2 separate regions of the Homo sapiens genome follow, and region 1 is linked to region 2. The links are contacts of gene promoters, found by promoter capture Hi-C in blood cells and fetal thymus (Javierre and others, 2016). All regions are on one chromosome and are shown on one strand. The core of a region is centred on a gene start or on the middle of the fragment in contact, and the rest is flanking DNA. Distances in the headings are between cores, read along the strand shown. Region 1 holds the start of KLHL25 (kelch like family member 25). Region 2 holds the start of PDE8A (phosphodiesterase 8A).

Region 1 (4,989 bases), core at 2,298-4,797, 810 kb before region 2:
TTCCCGGGCGCTCCAATATTTGTAGGTCTGAGAAGTGAGGGGGAATCAGCAGAGGAGACTAAAAAGAACACCTGAGAAGGTAGAAAGGAAACCAAGAGGCCAGGCGCGGTGGCTCACGCCTGCAATCCCAGCACTTTGGGAGGCCAAGGTGGGCAGATCACCTGAAGTCGGGAGTTTGAGACCAGCCTGACCAACATGGAGAAACCCCGTCTCTACTAAAAATACAGAATTAGCCAGGCGTGATGGTGCATGCCTGGTGATCGCAGCTACTCGGGAGGCTGAGGCAGGAGAATCGCTTGAACTCGGGAGGCAGAGGTTGTGGTGAGCTGAGATTGCGCCATTGCACTCCAGCCCGGGCAACAAGAGTGAAACCCCATCTTTAAAAAAAAAAAAGAACCAAGAATTTGATCATCTATTAACGAACATATATTGAATTCTATACATCATCCCAGAATTTCTGAGACTTCAGATTCTGGGCCACCAGGAATACTAGCTAGATGGCAATGCTGGGAGGAAGGTATTGGTAAGGATTGTTGGTGGACAACAGGCATCTATTCCCTCTTCCTTGTTAACAGAACCCTGACTTTGAGGAGGTGATGTACTAACATAAAAGTCTACATTTCCCAGCTGCTCTTGCAGGTAGGAAAACTAAATTCTGTCCATAAACAAAAGTGTTGTGTGGGACTTCTGCAGTCTGCATAAATAGAGCTAACCAGGCTGGAAGACACACATCTCATGCTCTTCCGCCATTATTCCTTCCTACTGTCTGGGATATAGGTGTCAGAGTTGGAGCCCTAGCAGCCATCTTGGACTATGGGGCAACCTTGCAAATGGGAACCAAGCATTACAGATGAAGGAATAAAAATACAGTAGCCCGTGTTTCTGACAACTGTGGAGTTGCCAACAAAGGATAGCTTAACTTTAGCTTTATTTTGCATAAGCAAGAAACTTCTATCTTGTTTCAGTCACAGTTAATTTTGGGTTTTCTGTCATATGCAGTAAAAACTAATTCTAACGGATATGAGATTTATTCACAGTATTTCAAAACTGTGTAGACAACTTTGATGCAGCCCTAAGAGTTCTGAGATGAATTCATGGTCCCTGCCCTCCCAGAGCTCCCTGCACAGCAGGTGGACTAGCTAAGCAGGCCATTACAACACTGGCTGGTAAGGGCTGCGTTGACGGTAATGCTCCAGGGTCCGCAATAGATGGCAAGGCAAACTTCCGCTCTTCCTCTCATCTTCTTTCAAATCGTACCTAAATTCGATTAACTCCACACGTGTTCTTAGTCTGATTTTGTCCCATTGCTTACACTGTATTTGATTTTAATATATTCTAGTACCTAATTTAAGCCTTGGAGTTGAAGAGAGAAAAAATTATAATGTGGACCAGATTTTACTGGGCGGTTGGCACTTATAATTTTACAGCGAACCTGCATAAAATAATAAGCAACAGTTATAAACTTGCCAAGAATCAATTTTGCATGTGGAGCTTCATTCAACCAACAATTCTATAAACACTCTAGTGCTAGAAAATCGGCAGGATAAAACTACAAATGTGATCTCTGTCATTTCCTTAATGAAGTAATTACTTTGATGCTAATGTGTTGGAGCTGGTTCCTTCCGGTGGGTTGGTGGTCTCGCTGACTTCAGGAATGAAGCTGCGGACCTTCACGGTGAGTGTTACAGCTCTTAGAGGTGGCGTGAACCCAAAGAGTGAGCAGCAGAAAAATTTACCGTGGAGAGCGAAAGAACAAAGCCCCCACAGCGCCAAAGGGGACCCAAGTGGGTTGCTGCTCCTGGCTGGGGGGCGGCCAGCTTTTATTAGCTTATTTGTCCAGGCCCATGTGCTGCTGATTGGTCCATTTTACAGAGTGCTGATTGGTCCGTTTTACAAACCTCTAGCTAGCCACAGAGTGCTGATTGGTGCATTTCTACAGAGCACTAATTGGTACATTTTACAAACCTCTAGCTAGATACAGAGCGCTGATTGGTGCATTTTACAATCCTCTTGTAAGACAGAAAAGTTCTCCAAGTCCCCACTGGACCCAGAAAGTCCAGCTGGCTTCACCTCTCACTACCTTTTCTCTTCAGAAGGCACCTTAACAGTGCACTTGGCAAGCTTCTTACCTCTGGCCAATATTGTTCATAAATATCAGAACCCTGGTGCCTTAGATGTCTGCAGATCTGGGCCAAATGGAAGCACAAATCTGTACTGAGCACTTACTACATGCCAGGCCTATTCCATATGTTATCTTAATCTTTCCCATACCCCTGCAAGAAAGGTTTTAGAATCCTCTTCACCAGTAAGAACCAGACACCAGAGAGTCTGAGCCATCTGCTTCAGTCCTACCCAGCTCTTGAGGGGCAGGGCGGGGCTTCAAACCCAGAACATCAAGCTGTTTCCCAAAAATGCCTTCCCTGGTGGTATCTTCTCATCATCTCCCAGTCTTTTAACCCTGGCATATCTGTCCTGTCTAAGCAGCTTTCTACCCAGGGGCTCTATTTCCCAGGTTCCACTAGTCACAATCCTATCCCCTCTCCCAAATCTTTGTACACTTTCTTAGACCTTCCTTGCACCTCCCACCTCCACCTCCGTCAGGGTGACCTCTGCTTCCTGGGAATTTCCCCGCCCCAGGCTTGGCTCTTTCGTTCTTATCACTTTCTATGCTTTACCTTTTGTATCCTTAAGCAACCTACTTGAATTATCGATTTTCATTGGGAGGGAGAAAAGAGAGGACATTTATTGCGCACTCATTTGTCTGGGAATTTGTCTCCTTTAATCCCCCAAATAATCCGATGAGGAGTTTTTATCTGCCGCTTTACGGATGAGATTGGACACACACAGTAAGCTGAAGTAGTAGTCAGGAGGGAAAAGGACGAAGAATCACAAACCGTTCTCCCCCTCCAAGATGAGTGCATGGTGTGGGCGTCCAGGAAACGTTCCTGGAAGAAATTATTGGATGGATGGATGAATGAATGAATGAACGAACATTTAAAGGCTGGCTTACGAAAGGAGTTTAGTGAGAAATGACACAGAGAGGAGAGCTGAAATACTCCAAAAAATACAGATTTCAAGTACAGGTGGGGTTTGGAGGCTGCAGAAAGTCCCAAACATTCAAACAAGCCCAGAGTGAAAGACAGGGTTTCATTAACACTCGGGCAACTACTAGTGTGGCTCTGAAGAGTCTAAAGAGATCTACAACACTTGTGACCCGAACACAAAAGAGGCATATGCAATCTACAGTGCTCCCTCTGGAAAGCTCTAGAACACCGTCGCGTTTTGTTCCCAAACTTGGGCGGCGGGGTTGGGCAGGCGCCTGTCTCTTTAAGAATCTGGTCGAAGTCCTTTTCCTCGCCCCGCCCCGCCCCCGGTCCCCCCCCCTCCCCGCCCCCGGCCCCCCACCCCCCGGTGCCGGCGCGGCCTGGGGCCCACCCCCTTCTTTTCTGCGGCTGCACTGAAGGGTTCGGCTGCCCATCCGTCACAGAGGCGATGCCTCTGATTGGCTGCTGCTCTTCGGGCCGGGAGGCGGGGCGGGAAGGCCGGAGAAACTAGTTTGTTGGCGGCGCCTAGGCTGTATCGCAGCGAGAGCGTTTTTGCCTGTGGAGAGCCGGCCGACGGGAGCCGCGGCGGAGCCTGTTGAGCTCGCGCGGGCTGCCGGGAGTGGTCTCTGAGGCGGCGGCGGCGGCGGGGATCGTCTCCGGCAGTGAGTATCCAGGCCGGGCGGGGACGCCGTGCTCTGGCCGCAGCACCCGCGCCCCCGCTCCCTGCGCTGGGGACTCACCACCCCGGGCCGGGCCGGGACCAAGCGCTCGGAGCCCCCGCGGGACTACGTGTCCCGGGAGGGGGCCCCGCGGCTGGGGCCGGGGCCCTGGGACAATGGTGGGGAGCGGCGGCCGGCCGGCACCCCGCGGCTCCGCGAGGGAATTCGCCGAGAGCTCTGCGCGAGGGAATGAATTGTTTGGCAAATGGATGTTGCGCGCGGGAGCCGCTACTCTTTCCCCAGGGAGTGGTTGATTCATTGAGTCCGCAGACTCTTTTTTTTAAAAAATTACTATTGATCCTGGAAAGAGAGACTGCTTGTCTTTGAGGACGCGAGCGGCGATGCCCCGCGCCTTGGACGCCCAGGCCGGATGGCTGCCTGCCTGGCGCAGAGCGAGGGCCCGGGGTTCACAAGGGGAGGGTTTGCGCGGGCCTGGCCGCGGAGCCCCGAGCCGTTCACGTTCCGCCTGCCAGGGTCCCTCGTTTCGGTTTGCAGAACTGTCCAGCGGCAGAGAAAGGTCGCACTCAAAGGCACACCCACCTGTCCACCTGGGTGGCGGCCAGACTGGCAGGTCCAGAGCAAGCCCTCTAGCCTGACTCTAATTACCACACTTGCCCTGGCTCCGAGACACACCGCGCGATGTTACGCCCCCACTCCCCCTGTCTCTTTCGTAGTTGCTTTAGAAGCTTTTCTCTTGGGGGATTGTGCCCGGGAGATACCAGATACTTTTTTTGTGTTGCTGCTCTAAGCCCCCAAAGTGCATTCCCATTGTCTTTGAACAAAGAAACATCTCTCTAGAGGCCTGACCCAACGAACTGTGGGTGAGGGGGCGGACCCAGGCCCCTGCAGATTTAATCTGGACGCTCTTGGGTCCTGCTGGATCCCGGTGAATTTGACCTTGGGGAAGGCGGGCTGGACTTTGACTCTCCTCGGTAGTCAGGGCAGAGAATGCCAGGTGTCTGGACCATTTGGTTCCACTCTATCGGCCCAATAGAGAGAGGAAGGGAAGGAAGTTAGCAGTAGCACCAGGAGAGGAGGCAGGATTCCACGGTCTGTATCCTGGACCAGATTCCAGTGACCGTTATGGGGCCAAGCCCTCTGGGACCCTGGGTCCCAGTCTCCCCATTCATAGGAGGAACTGATGCTCAGTGTGCTGATCTGAGCTGTGAGGATTCCTGGCATGTTGGTGAAGGCTTGCGTGGGGGTCTGGGGAAGAGTAGGACACA
Region 2 (5,175 bases), core at 2,676-5,175:
TACCTGGCCTGGGTGGATTTTCAACTTGACAGCCTGGTTCACAAAATTCTCTAATTCAACATACGTTTACGGAAGGCCTACTGTGCATCAGGCCTGGGGGATACAGCAGTGAACAAAACAAACATGACTGCCATCTCACAGAGTTGATTAGTTGGGGTGTGGGGAGCATCAATCATTAGCAGTGCAGTGGGTGTTTGCAAAAAGGAAGATAGGGGGTGAGCATAGGGTCTCTAACACTACATGCAAATCTTTCAAGGGCAACTCAAGTCCTGGCTAGGGAAAGTGGAAATGGGGTAAATCCAAAGACTGGCAAGAAAATATTAAAATGTTACAGTTAAGGCTCACTCACACTGATTAAAAATAAACAAAACTCTAAGTGTTCAAACTGAACACAGCATTCATTATCTGTAACCACATAAACTTAAACTCCCGAAAGGAATAAACAGACAGAGGGTATTTTTAGTAATACTTAAATAAGTTCATACAGACAACCCAGCCTAATATATTGCAAGATCTAAAGTACCTTTGGAATCATTAAGAAGCAAATTACATTCGTTGAGTTTTACTGTTAATTATATTTCTTGTACTTTGAATATTGGTATCTCACATAAAGAATCAGGTCTTAACATGTGGCCTGCCTGACATACACCTCAAGAAAAGGGCTCCACAATCAACTAGTTTAGGAAATGATGCACACTCTAAAAACCACTTGGAGACTCACAGATTACTTTCAGAAATTAGGTTCTCTGACAAGCCCTACATAAAAGAACTCTGTTGAACTTAGTCTGAGCCAGTATAGGCCGCATATCTCTTATCCCAAATGCTTGAGACCAGAAGTGTTTTGGATTTTTTTTTTTTGGCTTTTGGAATATCTGCATTATATTTACCAGTTCAGCATCCCTAATCTGAAAATCCAAACTCTGAAATGCTCCATTGAGCACTTCCTTTGAGCATCATGTCAGCACTCAAAACAGACTTTGGAACATTTCTCATTTTCTGATTAGGGATATTCAACCTGTATTTCCCAAAAACTTACCAGACCACGGAACTCTTTTCTCATACAATACTAACAGTCCACATATTGTTCCATAGAACACATGCAGGATACACTTTAACGCAAAGTACATACTGCTTAACCTAAAAATGCAATTAGTTATCAATCTCCCACCCACACTGATAAACTGGTATTTACTAAATGCTGTAGGACTATAAAAGCATCCCCCAATGAATTTCTTGTTGAAATTCACTTAAAGATATGCTGACTTACAGTTTTAATAAGAAATTTTGTAATGAATTAAATTGCATCTTGAGATAATACAAAGAAACTAATTTTATGATTTAATTTTGCTAAATTGCTAGCAGTTTGCCTTCTCTAACATGAATTTCCAGAGCATAGTTAATATCTTAAAATTTAAAAAGATTCATTTTCAAAGAAAAAATATTAGACTAGAAAAAATGCTGACATTTACCTCTGCTCTACTATCTGACATGCCTAAATGCAAATAACTGTAAATGAGATATCAACATGTACAGTTCATGAATAACAAGTATGGGGCTATTATTTCTGTGGTTGTGGTGTTATAATTTATAATTTGACTCCTGCTCTGGAAATACTATTATTTTGAAGTCTACATAGGAGGCTTTATGAAATCAAATTCCAATGACTGAAAAAGTTTCATCAATCAGTTAACAATTTTTTAAGAAATCAGTAAACATTTATTTAGTACCTACTATGTGTATGCCACTGGGTTAGGCACTTTAAGGATGAAAGTATTTTCTGAGCCCCCAACACAAGACAATGGTCTGCCAATACAGAAGAATGGTTGAAGTAAGTACTTAAAAACTCAGGGACCTAACGGCACTGCGATAGCACAAGAGCAAGCTGCTGCTGCACTGGGGAGGCTTACAAGACACCTAGGTGAATTTTAGGACACCCAATCCACCACAAAAAAAGCCTGTAAGACACAAAGGCCCCTCACTATAAAAGGGCTACTTTGGTAATCTGAAATTATCACATTAGTCTGCAAAATGTTAGATTTGGACTGAAAACTTGAAAGCTGTTAAAGTTTCCATATGCACCTGTGTAACACTTTTTTAAAGCCAAGTAGGCTTAACACACAGCTTAACACTGATATTAAGAGCACCTTGAGTTAGTAAGCCTAAACCATCAGAGGTTTCTTTAAAGAATCTATAGGAGAAGGAATTCAATTTCTGATAATCAGAACAAAGTTGAATTTTCACTTAGGGTATGGGAATGGTGGGGAAATCAACTGTTATGCAACACTGAAAAAGACTTTCCCCTTTCGTACAGAAAAAGTATCATGACGACTGCTAGAAATGTAAGACAGAAAGTACATCAAACTATATCCCTCAAACTTCGGAGGTTCAGCAGTTCTCAGCAAGCAAGGAAAAATCAAACAAATTTTGCAAATTACTCTTTCAAAAACTGGTCGTGATGAGAGGGATGACAGCCAACAATCTGCAGCCATGCACGAATTTTGTTGTTGTTGTCTTTTACTGGTTTAACAAAACATAAACCAACGCATGAGTTCCAGCTTTAAATTCTGAAATGAGAGAACTGGAAAGCTGCTGCTGTGTGCCTTAATGATCACGTTTTTCTTTTTCCTTTTTAACTTTCCTTTAGAAAACCTCAACAAAGACTAAGCCCAGAAACTTTGACAAAACATAAGCCAAGGCAACATGCGCTGGAGAAGACACGCAATGTAAAAAAACAAAAAACCCCAGTCACAAAATGTCCCAGTAAGTCGGCTTAATAAAAGATTAACTTTGTTCTGCTGAATGCTTCAAAAATCGCGTTTCACAGTATTTTCTAATTACATATGCTTTAAATACAGTATGTATGCTAATAAACGTGGACCTCAAATACATGTGCAATGAAGCAAAGCTGATGTTCCAGATTACATTCTAGCAGTCCCGAAGAAAATGGTAACCTGCAACTGCATGTGCAAAGCTGACAGAGGGAAAAGAGTGGTGAGGCCAGTCGCCCTTCCCTTTCTACCACAGGAAAAGAACAAAGTTCACACTGATTTAACATTGCAGGGGCGCGCCAGAATATCCTGGGGGTTTCCCTCAAACACCCGCTCTTGGAGAGGAAATTGATGCAAGCGCCTCAGTCAACTTCACATCGGGCCCCGCCGCTCCGGGAGTCGGATGTGTCCAAAAAACCGACGCCGCGACACAGGCGGCGTCCTAATCGCAACCCTAGGAAATCAGGGTCGCGGGACCTGGGTCGGTCCTTCTCTGAACGCTGCCCCGGCAAGGCGGGAGACTGGCGTCAATCAGAACCATCCAAAGCGGGACAAGAGGGCACCGAGGCCGGGTGGGGGGGACCCCGCCCGGCCCCTGCGGGAAAGTTGCTTACTGGCCGGGCCCGAGTTTCGCGGCGGCCCCAGAGTGCCCGGCGCCCCTTACCTTCTTGCCGCTGCCGTCGCGAAGCTCCGACTCCAAGAGGCCGGCGCCGCGGGTCCGGGGCAAGGCGGCCGTCTTCTGGCCCTGCGGGAGGCGCGGCCCGCCGGACGACAGCGGCGGTGCCGCGGGGCTAGGCGCGTCCTCGGCCACCAGGCGCTCGGAAATGTGGATGCTCGGGGCACAGCCCATGCTGGCGGCGGCGCCGCGGACACGCTGGCGGGTAGCCGCGATCCGGTCAGCAAACGGCCCACCCGGCGCCTCCGGGCCGCCGCGGGCGCCGTGTCATCGCCGCCTGGGCGGGCGGCGGCGAGCGCGGATCTCGCGTCAGGAAACGCGGCCGCCCCTTTTATCGCGGTGCGGGCGCTGCGGCGGCGGCGGCTGCGGTGGGAAGGGGGCGCTTAGGCGGGTGGCGTGCCGAGGCCGCCCCTCCGAACATGCCCTTCCTGAGGCAGGAGCCGACGGCCGCCTCTCACATCGCCGGGCTCGCCTCGGCCGCGCTTCCGGGGAAATAGGGGGAGGAGATTTGCGCTCTCCTTACCCAGGAGCGGCTGAGTCCACGCCGCGCGAGCCACGCTGCCCTCGCCGAGCTGCGGCACGACCCCCGGGGGAGGCGAGCTCCCGGCCGCGCCCGGCCCCGCTCCCGCCGCCGCCGCCGCCGCCTCCCCGGCTCCAGACTCCGCCTAGATGTGGACACCCACGCCGCTCCGCCCGCTGGGCCGCCGCCTCGCGGAAAAGCCCCCCCAGGCCGAGTGCCGGTGGGGTACAAGGCTAGCCTTAGACGCTCCCGCTGGCCGGGGTTTAGGCGCGGGGTCCGAGGGAAACCCCTCGGAGCGGCCGGGCCACGTCCGCCAGGGTAGGGAGGGGAGCAGCTCGGCTCCAGCGGGGCCTGGGGCCGCACCGTCGAGAAGCGCAGAAACGGCTGCGCGCACCCAGGAGTTGCTGGCGGTACGGCTCCGGCTCCGGCTCCGTGATCCGGGCCGGGTTTTGCCGGCAGCGTGCCGCGCCGAGCCCCCAGCGGTGACCTCCAGCGGGTGCTGGCGTCAATGCAAAGCAGCTGGGGCGCCCGCCACCTCCTCCGGACGCCGCCCGCAACTGAGCATGCGCGGCGACGACAGGCGGGGCGCCCGACTGGGCTACCCAGAGAAGGAAAGAGACTTGCCCAGGGACACACAGCCACCTCCGTCCCGAGGCCACCAGAAGCCCGACCGCCAAATTCGAATTCCGGCTCCGTAACTTAGCGGCTACTTGACCTCGGTGGGGTCACCAAGTGTGAGCCCTGGAGCTGTTACCCAGAAAAGAGGCCGGTGGAAAGACCTCCTTTGGGGGTAGTGAAAGTCAAACTGGGGCGCCGCGCGCCGGGTCCCGGGTGGGTGGGGCCTGGGCGTCCGCGAGAAGCCGCAGCCCACGTGCGCTCCCTCGCAGGCCAAAACCTGGCGCGCCACGCCTCGGATTACACAGGCGCCGGGGCGGCCGCAAAGCTACAGCACCGGGCAGGCTGCAGGCGCCCGTCCTCCTCTCATTTTAACCAAAGTGCTAGTCGGGCGTCCGAGACCCCAAAGGCAGAGCCAGGGGAAGGGGCGTACGCATTGCAGGCCTGGGGCCCATGAGGACCCCGGACACGCACACAGCCACTAGCTTGCTGTGTGAACTGGGCCAGTCACTTAACTTCTTGGTGGCTGGGGCTCCTCCCCCACCAGCTGGAGGGCGGTGTCTCTGGGCGTCCATCACGTATCCTGTAGCGGGCTG

What was found. The method cuts DNA at HindIII sites, captures the fragments that hold promoters and counts their contacts. A CHiCAGO score of 5 or more calls a contact.
Region 1: the fragment with the promoter of KLHL25 here is called in contact with the fragment with the promoter of PDE8A in region 2 in 1 of 17 cell types (fetal thymus); the score reaches 8.8 in fetal thymus.

The regions. Positions count from the first base shown.
Region 1 is chr15:85,793,483-85,798,471 of GRCh38, reverse strand. It overlaps KLHL25 (kelch like family member 25), which reads left to right and starts at 3,547. Exons shown (of 3, transcript NM_022480.4): 1 at 3,547-3,706. RefSeq lists silencers at 3,357-3,426, 3,577-3,876. The HindIII fragment of the contact is 2,328 bases long and covers 2,124-4,451 here.
Region 2 is chr15:84,980,606-84,985,780 of GRCh38, reverse strand. PDE8A (phosphodiesterase 8A) reads right to left here and starts at 3,925. Exons shown (of 22, transcript NM_002605.3): 1 at 3,433-3,925. The coding sequence starts at 3,618. RefSeq lists an enhancer at 3,744-4,276 and silencers at 4,004-4,493, 4,814-4,863. The HindIII fragment of the contact is 13,609 bases long and covers 1-5,175 here.